2 separate regions of the Homo sapiens genome follow, and region 2 is linked to region 1. Evidence: promoter capture Hi-C in 16 types of primary human blood cells and fetal thymus (Javierre and others, 2016). All regions are on one chromosome and are shown on one strand. Each heading gives the region's core, a stretch centred on a gene start or on the middle of the fragment in contact. The rest is flanking DNA. Distances are from core to core; before and after follow the strand shown. Region 1 holds the start of FLI1 (Fli-1 proto-oncogene, ETS transcription factor). Region 2 has its middle 46 kb from the start of ETS1.

Evidence for each region. The method cuts DNA at HindIII sites, captures the fragments that hold promoters and counts their contacts. A CHiCAGO score of 5 or more calls a contact.
Region 2: a contact is called between a fragment that was not itself captured here and the fragment with the promoter of FLI1 in region 1, in 8 of 17 cell types (naive B cells, total CD8 T cells, activated CD4 T cells and 5 more). The highest score is 7.8, in naive B cells.

Annotation. Positions count from the first base shown.
Region 1 is chr11:128,691,854-128,696,600 of GRCh38, forward strand. It overlaps FLI1 (Fli-1 proto-oncogene, ETS transcription factor), which reads left to right and starts at 2,219. Exons shown (of 9, transcript NM_002017.5): 1 at 2,219-2,423. The coding sequence starts at 2,406. SENCR (smooth muscle and endothelial cell enriched migration/differentiation-associated lncRNA) reads right to left here and starts at 4,170. Exons shown (of 3, transcript NR_038908.1): 1 at 4,060-4,170; 2 at 802-1,538; 3 at 1-268. RefSeq lists silencers at 1,278-1,327, 1,348-1,487, 2,171-2,540, 2,761-2,810, 2,851-3,070 and 1 more and a cis regulatory region at 1,707-2,439. The HindIII fragment of the contact is 9,137 bases long and covers 1-4,747 here.
Region 2 is chr11:128,631,275-128,636,021 of GRCh38, forward strand. No RefSeq gene overlaps it. Among named protein-coding and RNA genes, the nearest start is that of ETS1, 46 kb to the left of the region's middle. The HindIII fragment of the contact is 199 bases long and covers 2,642-2,840 here.

The DNA of each region.
Region 1 (4,747 bases), core at 969-3,468:
AGCCATGGTGTCTGCCACAGAGGGACCCTCTAAAGTGCTAGGAGGAGGGTGGGGGGCAGTCGCCACCTGTGGGATGCCATGAACAGCCTCTGCAACTGGCCAGCACCAGGAAGGGGGGCCTCCTGGTGGTGGAGTTGGAGTCCTTTCTGGCTGAATGAGGAGCAATGTGGCTGGGGTGTGCGGGTTTCTGGTGAGGTCCGGGTGGGAAGCCGTCTCTCCGCATTCTCCTGAAAGCTCTGTTGTAGTTTGAAGGTCGGTAGAGCCTGGGCTGAAAAGGAAACAATTTGGGGTTTGAAAGGATGTAATTCATTCTTCCTTTCCCGTTAACCTCTTTCCTCTCTGGAAAGCACGTGGAAACGCTGAAGGGAGGAGTGAGAGGGCAGGCAGCCTGCCGCGGGGAGGAAAGGGTTAAGCCTGATTTCTTTTAATTGAACTCCAGAACTGGTGGCCCCAGGCAAAGGGGGGGACTGACCCCGCTAGCGGTAACCAGATGTGGCGGTCCCAGGGGAGCCCCGGAGCAGACCCCTGGATTGAGAAGCAGACAGGAGCGGGGGGAGTCAGCCCGGCCCCCATCCCACCATCCACCCCACCCCCACCCCCAACACGCACACCAAGTCTCAATTGCTGGCAGGCTGCACCCGCCACTCCAGGTCTGGTCACGTTCAGACCCGTGTCTGTATTCGAACCCAAAATTGGAGCCGAATTGATGAGACTAATTTCTAGAGAGGGAGGGGGAGGGAGGGAGACGAGTGAGCTCTCGGGCTCAATTGCTCCTGAAGAAATAAAGAATTAATAAGTCACCTTTTTTCGCCTCTGTGGACACCCTTTTGAAATTTTTTCTTCCAATTGACTTGGATCTCCTCTGGATTTTTTTTCCCTCTTTCCCCCGTCGGACTCTTAAATAAAAGTGAGCAAGTCCAAAGCGTGGTCCGGAGAGCGTGGACAAGGTAACCTGTTTTGGATGTCCGGGAGAAGGGAGTCCGGCCGAAAGGGCCCAGCCCCTCGAGGCTGCTCCAACTGGGGCGCGCGGCGGCCCAGGAGGGAGGCGGGGAGGTCTCCGGGTTGGGCCGGGGAACGCCGGCCTCCAGGCTGGGTAGGGAGGACGGTCCAGAGCGCGGGCCTCCGGGTCTCACCCCGGGAAAAGTCTGGGTCTGCTCTGCGCTGTTGCGTGCTGCGCTCCTGGGACCTGCTGACTGTCCTAGAGGGAACGTCCCGCGGTAGTGTCAGTTCCCTGGGGACCAGGAAGGGCGACTCTTGCCTGGGAGTCAGTGCTTGGGCCGTCGGGTCCGGGTAAGCGCTGGGGGTTTGGCTCGAGAAGATGCGGATAGGTGGCCTAGGGCGCCGCGGATCTCCGCCCTCTGCGGGCACCGGGAGCCCAGGGTCGAGGCGCGCCGCCCCGAGGGGCCCCTTCTCCTAACAATGCGCCCGGAATGGAGTCCGCGCCCTGACAGCGCGGGTCAGCCCGAAACCGCCCAGAATCCGCTTCGATGAGTGGGTGAGCCGCTCTGGGAGTCTGCCGCGTCTCGGCAGCGGAGGGCCTGAGTGGAAAAATTCTTATTGGATGCACTTTTTAATGGTTGGTTTGCCTCGGTTTTCGTCCGAGTCTTCCCCGGCAGTAGGCGCTGGGTTACCCGCAGCCCTAGCCAACTCTCCCTCCATACCCCCCCTACCCCACCCCCAAAAAGTTTGTCTCCGGCTGGAAAAAGCATTAATGAACGTATCTGTGGGAAGAAACGGAAAGTGAATGAGTCAGGAGGGCCACCTTCGGCCAACCGCCTCAGGAAAAGCAAAGAAGCCAAAGGTCTTTGGCTTTGGATTTTGGGGGAAGGTGATGGGGGGAGGTTCAGACTTCGGGAATCAGGGCGCGGACGCTGGGCGTGGACCCCGTCATTGTTCCCGGCTAGCTCTTATCTCCCAGGAGCAAGTATCCTGTGTGCGCAGCGCATGAATGTGTCTGGGCATCTCCGCGTATATTTATATAGTGTGTGATGCGAAAAGCAGGACCAGCAGGGGAGGAAGAGGGGGTGTGGGGGGGGAGGGAAGACGAGGGAGAGCAGAGGGGAGAGAAGAGAGAGGAGAGCTCGAGGCGAGAGAGAGAGAGAGAGAGAGAGAGAGAGAGAGAGAGAGAGAGAGAGAGAGATAGGACTTCCTCCCCGATTCGCAAAGTGAAGTCACTTCCCAAAATTAGCTGAAAAAAAAGTTTCATCCGGTTAACTGTCTCTTTCGCTCCGCTACAACAACAAACGTGCACAGGGGAGTGAGGGCAGGGCGCTCGCAGGGGGCACGCAGGGAGGGCCCAGGGCGCCAGGGAGGCCGCGCCGGGCTAATCCGAAGGGGCTGCGAGGTCAGGCTGTAACCGGGTCAATGTGTGGAATATTGGGGGGCTCGGCTGCAGACTTGGCCAAATGGACGGGACTATTAAGGTAAGCGGCGGGGCAACGGACGCGGGCGGCGGGGACCGGCCGGGGAGGCGAAGCGGCGGGCGGGTAGGTGCGGGGCCCGCGTCCCGGAAGACGTGGCCTCTCTCCCTTCCCTCCGCGCCCCGGCTTCGCGCCGGCTCCTCCGGCGCTCGGGTGGCGAGTCCTACTCGCGGGCCAGCCGGCCAGGCGCCCGCATTGAGGGCGACCCTCCCCCGAAATCCCAGCCCCCAAAGTGGAGCCCCGGCCCCCCTCCCACCTCGCTGCCCGCCGGGGCTGCAGGAGGGGACGGCGGGAAACCGGGGGACCCCAGGGTACGGAACGGAGTCAAGGGCGAGAGACCTCGGGGTCCACCACTCCCACCGACACCCGGGGCTCCCGTGGCCCCAGCGCTAGGCACTGGGCTTCCTCTCCGCAGAGGCGGAACACGGCGGGGGCGGGGGCTGCAGTCGCCCGGGCTCGGGTCCCTGCCTGGTGGGCCCTGGGGTGGGTAAGTGGCCTCGTTGCACGAGGGTAGGGGTGCAAGTGAGTGTGTCGGGGGATCTATCTGAGCGGGCTCCTCCAGATGGAAGCCCCTGTTTACATGTCAGCGCTTTCCCTTCCTCTCGGCACTCAGTCGCCCGGCTCTAGGCGCTGGAGAGCCGCCGGCTCCGCGGGACTCCTGGGCCGGCCTCGCCGCCTCTCCGGCGGGGAACCTTCCCCAGCCCCCGTCCGCACAGATCCCTAGCGCCCCGAGCCCCCGCCCTTCGCGCCTAGGCGTGCGCCGGCTCCAGGACCAGGGCTCCTGGAGCTGTCGCCTCCGAAAGGGTCCTGCGTCCTTCGGAGCCGCCTCCGTTGCAGGGGCCGGCTGTGAGCCCGCGCCCCGCGCCCGCCCGGCCATTCCCACCCCAGCCGCCGCCGCCAAGCCTGGGTCTAGGTTGCAAAGTGCAACCCAGGCGGAAAGGTGAGGGTTTGGGTTCGCGTCTCACTTCAGAAAAGTTGACTGCTGTCTCTGAAAGGGTTCGCCAAGTAGGGCCAGGAGCAGAGAGGAGGGACACCCCCTAACGTGACGGGCCTTAGAGGACCTAGGGGAATGAATGGGACCAGGGGTTAGCTTCGAGGCTGCCGCGCAACACCAAGCGGGAGTCTGTCTGGAAAAACTATTAGGCTGGCGAGGTGGGGACTGGCAGAGCCCGCCATTCCCCAGAACCCGAAAGAATCGACTCCCTGCTCAGGGCTCAGCAAGAGAAGGCTAAGATGTTGGGCTCAGAGAATTCAAGAGATTTTTATCTTCTGGGTGGGGTCGTGGTTTTTATTTTCTAAGTTTTTTTTATGAAAGTTTGAAATATGCTGACTTAGGTAAAAGACACCAACCGAAGGAACTTGCAAATCTGGAGATGAGATAACTGACTGTGATGGGTTAAAGGGAGCTATAAGAGCCTATAAGAGCCTGGGTTCCTCAAACCCAAAGTGAGTAGGTGAGAAGTAGGTGAGAGGGGATTCCTGCAAAGACCCGAGAGTGGGGGTCATTGGGCCATTTTATGCCTGTTTCTCTGCTTCCTGTTGATGTGTTCATGCAAGTGTCTCTGTATTTCTGGGTTTAGTAATGAGATGCTCCCCTCTAGAAAACTCCCTCGCCCCAATCAGGACAGTTACCACTTACTCTGAAGGCCTCTTCTGATCCAGAAGGGTGGTAAGATGGCCTCAGGGTCTTGATGTGGACACCCTAAGGAAAAGTGAAGAAATATCTCCACACTGCTTAAACTCTACGCACAGGCCCTGAGCAAAAGGAGGAAGCTGTGGTCTGTGTACCCAGGATGTGCTAACCTCTTTAGATACACACAGGGATTGGCATGGCAGGCCTCGAGAACAGGCTTAGAGCAGGAACCTGACACTTCAGGCCAAGGATGGGAGTGAAAGTCCTTCCTTTTTTTGTGGGTGGTAGGAGCCATGAGCTCCTCCAAACCCTCCCTGTGAGCAACCTGTCATTCACCTAAGTTACCTGGCTAGGCTGAGTCCCCACAGAGCTACCTTCAGTCTCCAAGCATTCTGCAAGATTGAGCCTTTAGTGTGTGTGTTGGTGTTTAAGTTGTGTGAAAGCCACAGTTTTCTGTTCGCATGTGACCTCTGGATCTTGGGGTTTCCAGATCCTGTTCCCACAATAGTTCAAATACTGTGCTTGGAGAGGACAGTGGACCAGGAGAGAGGCCAGCATTCTTCTGCTCTCTTGGTGAGAATGAACCGTCCATTAAGCCTGTTTGAGATTCATAGTCATCACAAAAATGAAACAGTGGAACTAGGTTACCTCTACAGTAGTATCTAACCAATCTTCTCAGTGCCTAAAATGTGCT
Region 2 (4,747 bases), core at 1,491-3,990, 60 kb before region 1:
GAGATGACTAAGAGGATGCTTACTGCATGTAGGAAAATCAGTTAATGCTCGTGTGACTGGCTTATTTCCCTTTGCATACTGTCCTTCAGGTCCATCCATGTTGTCACATATGGCACGATTTTCATTTTTTTTTAAGGCCGAGTAATATTCCACTGTCTGTATCTACCCATTTTCTTTATTCGCCCATTGATGAACATTTAGGTTGTTTCCACATCTTAGCTCATCTTGACAGTGCTACAATGAACATGAGCATGTTAATATTTCTCCAAGATCATGATTTCAATTCTTTTGGATAAATACCTAAAAGTGGAATGGCTGGATCCTATATTAGTTCTGTTTTCCTCTTTTTGAGGAACCTCCCTACTGTTTTCCATAGCGGCTATACCATTTTACATTCCCACCATCTGCGCCAGAGTTCGAATTTCTCCACATCCTCACCAACACTTTTTATCTTTTGTTCTTTTGATAACAGCCATCCTCACTATTGTAAGGTGATATCTCATTATGGGGAAAAATTATATGAAAAGGAAGCATCAAATTAATAGGCAAGAAAACCAGTACATAGTATTTGGACAGTTGGCATATTACTTAAAAATTATGTATGAATCCAAAAAATTAATTAACTCTTACTATATTAGTATTCTGATTGTTGACATTAACCTGTAACAATAGGAGAAAAAGTTAGTTCAGGAATCACTTCCCAATTACATCTGTTACAAATGCAAGGAGAAACAAATACAAGGAGAAACTCCTTTGCATACAATATTTTAAAGAAAAGGACAGGTGAGTTTTGGGATGCGAGGAGAGGGGCAAGAAACTGTCTTCTGTGTGGAGAGGGATCTTGAAACATATCTTCCAATGGGAGGCCAAATGCAGGGGGGCATTGCTTTCAAGAAACTAAAGGTCCTGAGTGCCTCCCAGGATAGCAGTTAATGAGCATGAGCTGGGTTTTCAAGAAGTCTGAATCTATTCAACTACAAAGTAGCTTCCTTCAACTGTAGCAGCCTTGAGAACTTGTGTTCTGCACCTACAGAGACCCCTTCTGCCCAAATACTGGTGGTGCAATGCAGCCAACCGCTGCATCTCCCAAAAGATGCCGGGAAAGAGGCAGACACCCAAACCCACCCTGGGCCTGGGCAGACCCCTCTAGCCTCTGACAAGTCCAGGCACTGCTCAGACCTTCACATGCACACCTAGGGCCCCTTCATTATTCAGCAAGCTCTTCCCAGGCTCCCATCTGGCATCAGGCATGGTGCTGGGAGCTGCTGGGCACACGGATGAGCAGGTGGTGACCCTTTTCCATCAGCTACCCAGAGCCAGCTGCAGAACAGCGCCGAGAGCACATGCCTATAATGTGGGGCAGAGGGTCACACCGAGGACTCTCCCAGAGGGGAGTTATTTGAGCTGCTCTGGAGCAATGCAGACAAGAGGGTACAGAGCACAGAGGCCTGGGGTGGGGACTCCCAGGGACCAGGAGAGGCATGAGGTGGGAAGTGGGGAGCCAGGCTAGAAAGGGCCTTGTGAGTCCTCTGGGGGAGTTGCAGCTTGTCCTATTAGCCATGTGCAGGCTCTTTGGTTTTCAGAGAATGAGGATCATTCACAAGGGTGACTGGAGCTCCTGCGGGATGTGCACACCTGGCCTGAGGTTGAGATGACACAGAAAGAGTCACAGGGCCGGGGTCTCCCGCAGAGCTAGTCTTCTGTTTGAGTGTCATTTATCACCTCTTTCCAGAGGACAAGATGATGGCTTTATGACCAAAGGGGCTGGCTATGGAGGCCTCTCTTAATTTCTAATTGAGAGCCCATAATCACCACAAAGAAAAGCCTCTACCACCCAGGACTTCCGGGGAGACTAGAATCCGACTCAGAGGTGTTTTGTAACAAAACAGGGGTGGAGAAGATTAAAAAAAATCAAAAAAACAAGAAGGTTAGGAAAAAAGGCATTACTAAATTCTCCTTCATAGTACATAAGGTTTTTAAGGTAGGTAAATCACATCAGCCCAGCCACACTCAGTGACCTTTGTGATGGAAGAGGTGACCACTGGGCCAGTAAAGAAGTCACAAGGGTCCCAGGCCTGACCTTTAGCATTTCTGTGATTTTTAAATATCCATAAAACAAAGGTCTGTATGAGACCCAATGGAATCAGAAGCCCAAGTCCCAGCTCAAGTGGGGCCTGGCCACAGCAGGCTCTGGCAAGTCTCTGGCCCTGCAATAAGCCCTGGGGGCTTCCCCGGGCTCTGGGCCTTGCCTCCTATGCTCTGGGCAGCCTGGGTCCACGGGAGAGGAGTGAAAGTCTATTTGGCAAAAAGAACCAAACAGAGGGTTGCTCTGCTTGTCGAGAAAGCAGCACCATTGTCCTGAAAACCTCTACCTCCAGATCCCCGGGGATAACCTGAAGCCTGGAACATCACTGATGTCAGCCTCGTGAACACCCTGTCTTCTCCCACAAGCTCAGTGAAGGAAAGTAGATGGCCTCAAAAGCTCCTGTTACCATGCAGGTGCTCCAAGTCAGGTCACAGGCCGCCTCCCCGGGTCCCCATCCCTGGCTTCGTCATAATCCTGGCTGCCCAGTGACAGCTCTCTTTCTGGGAAGGAGCAGAAAATGGGGCTCCCTGATGTCCTGAAGGGGTTTAGCCTCAAAGCTTCTTGCCAGGCTGGGAACAGATAGAGTGGCCACTTATTAGGAGTTAAGAGGTCAGTATAGGTGCAGAACAGTGTTTTTAAAAGTGTGTCAGGAGCCAAGTAGACACATGGAAAACACAATTCCTGATAGTCTCACTTTTTTTCATGAAATGGGAATTAAAAGATTGTTAGAACGGGGACTGAAATAGTAAAAGAAAGCTTGAAGTGAGGGGGTAGAGGTGTGAACTAGGTAGTAAGGGTCATGGAAGAAAAAGCTGACCTAGAACAAGTGAAAGAGTTGGTGAGAAGCTCTGAATTCTAGCTGAGTTAAAAGACGATGAATTTTAGTTGTAAAGTTGTAGTTTTTAAAAAACTACAGTTTTTTTTTTTTAAGTCAGCATGGTTGTGTGATTTGTTTTATCCCTATTCTGCTTCTCAAGGTGTAAGATCAAAAGCAATGACTTGTAGCATTGAGCCAGGCTTGGGAATTCATTGGATGTGTGTGAAATTTATTCAGTTGACAAATATTTATTGTTTTTGCAATGCACTACTCTGAATATGAAGGGTGGAAAAAAGCAATACAAACTCTGCCCTTATAATCCATAGAATCTAGTGAAGAATGGTCATGACCCAAGACAGCCAAGGGTAATGTTGATGGAGTGTGGTCCAGATGATCAGCCATAGGGGGGAAAAGAAGGAAGTGGGGAGACCAGGGGATCAGAGGTACCTGTGAGATCAAAGATCAGTCTTACTCATAAGAAAACTAACAGAGTAAGAGACCAGTCTAAGACTAGAACATCAACTTTGCTATGGAAAGCAGTGATGCCAAGATCTAGGTCAGGACTCTGGGGCTGGAAAGGAGAGGAGCGGAGATGCAGATCATTGGAGCGGGAGGTCAAGACTGGGAAGCCAGGCTGGTAGGACAGGCCATGTGCTGCGATCTAAAACAGGAGTTAAGGTAGAGAAGAAGTTTTAAGACAGGTCCAAACTCTCAACTAATGAGGAAACACAACCTGAAATTTGGTTCACTGGGGAATATGGGCCACAATGGAAGATGAACTTTTATTAAAAAAAAAAAAAAAAAGGTAGAACATCTGGTGGGAGTTCTGGGTACTGAGAAAATATTCCACTCCAGGATCCAGTGTATGTAGATCAGAAAATGAGTAGCCTCCAGCGAGAAAGTGCATTTCCATTAAAACATTTGAGTGGAGAGAGTGGTATATTACACAGGGCTTTCCAGAGAAACAGACCAATAGGACAGAGAGACAGAGAGAGAGAGAGCATTACTCTAGCCTCACACTGCTAATAAAGACATATCCGAGACTGGGTAATTTATAAAGAAAAAGAGGTTTAATGGACTCACAGATCCGCATGGCTGTTGGGGGCCTCAAAATCATGGTGGAAGGCGAAGGAGGAACAAAGGCATATCTTCCATGGTGGCAGGCAAGAGGATGTGTACGGGGAAACTGCCTTTTGTAAAACCATCAGATCTCATGATACTAATTCACTATCACGAGAACAGCACGGGAAAAGCCTGCCCCCATTATTCAATTGTCTCTGCTTGGTCCCTCCCATGACACGTGGGGATTATGGGAACTACAATTCAAGATGAGATTTGGATGGGGACACAGCCAAACTACATCACAGAGGGAGATTAATTTTAAGAAATTGTATCCTGTGATTGTGGGGGCTGGCCTGCCGGCTGGAGACCTAAGAGAGATATAGAGTTGTTGCAATTTGAGTCTGAAGGCAGTATGGAGACAGCAGTTCTTCTTACTCCGGGACTGCAGTCTTTTTTCTTGAGGCCAGGCTTTCTGCTGGTTGCACAAGGCCTCCCCAAACACATCATGAAGGGTTATCTGCTTTACTCAAACTCTACTGATTTAAATGTCAATCACATCTAAAAAATTCCTTCACAGCAACATCTGGACTACAGTTTGACCAACACCCATGCGTTACGGCCTGACTGAGTTAACAAACAAAATTCACCATCACAAGTGGTCTTCGTAATGGTGGAGGATGACGAAAAGCTTGACCGTAGATTCCTAAAACTGCAATGGCAACAGTTGGGGAAGAGCAAAAAGAGGGAGCGGAGCCACAGGTGAAGCAGGGAGAAGCAAGAGG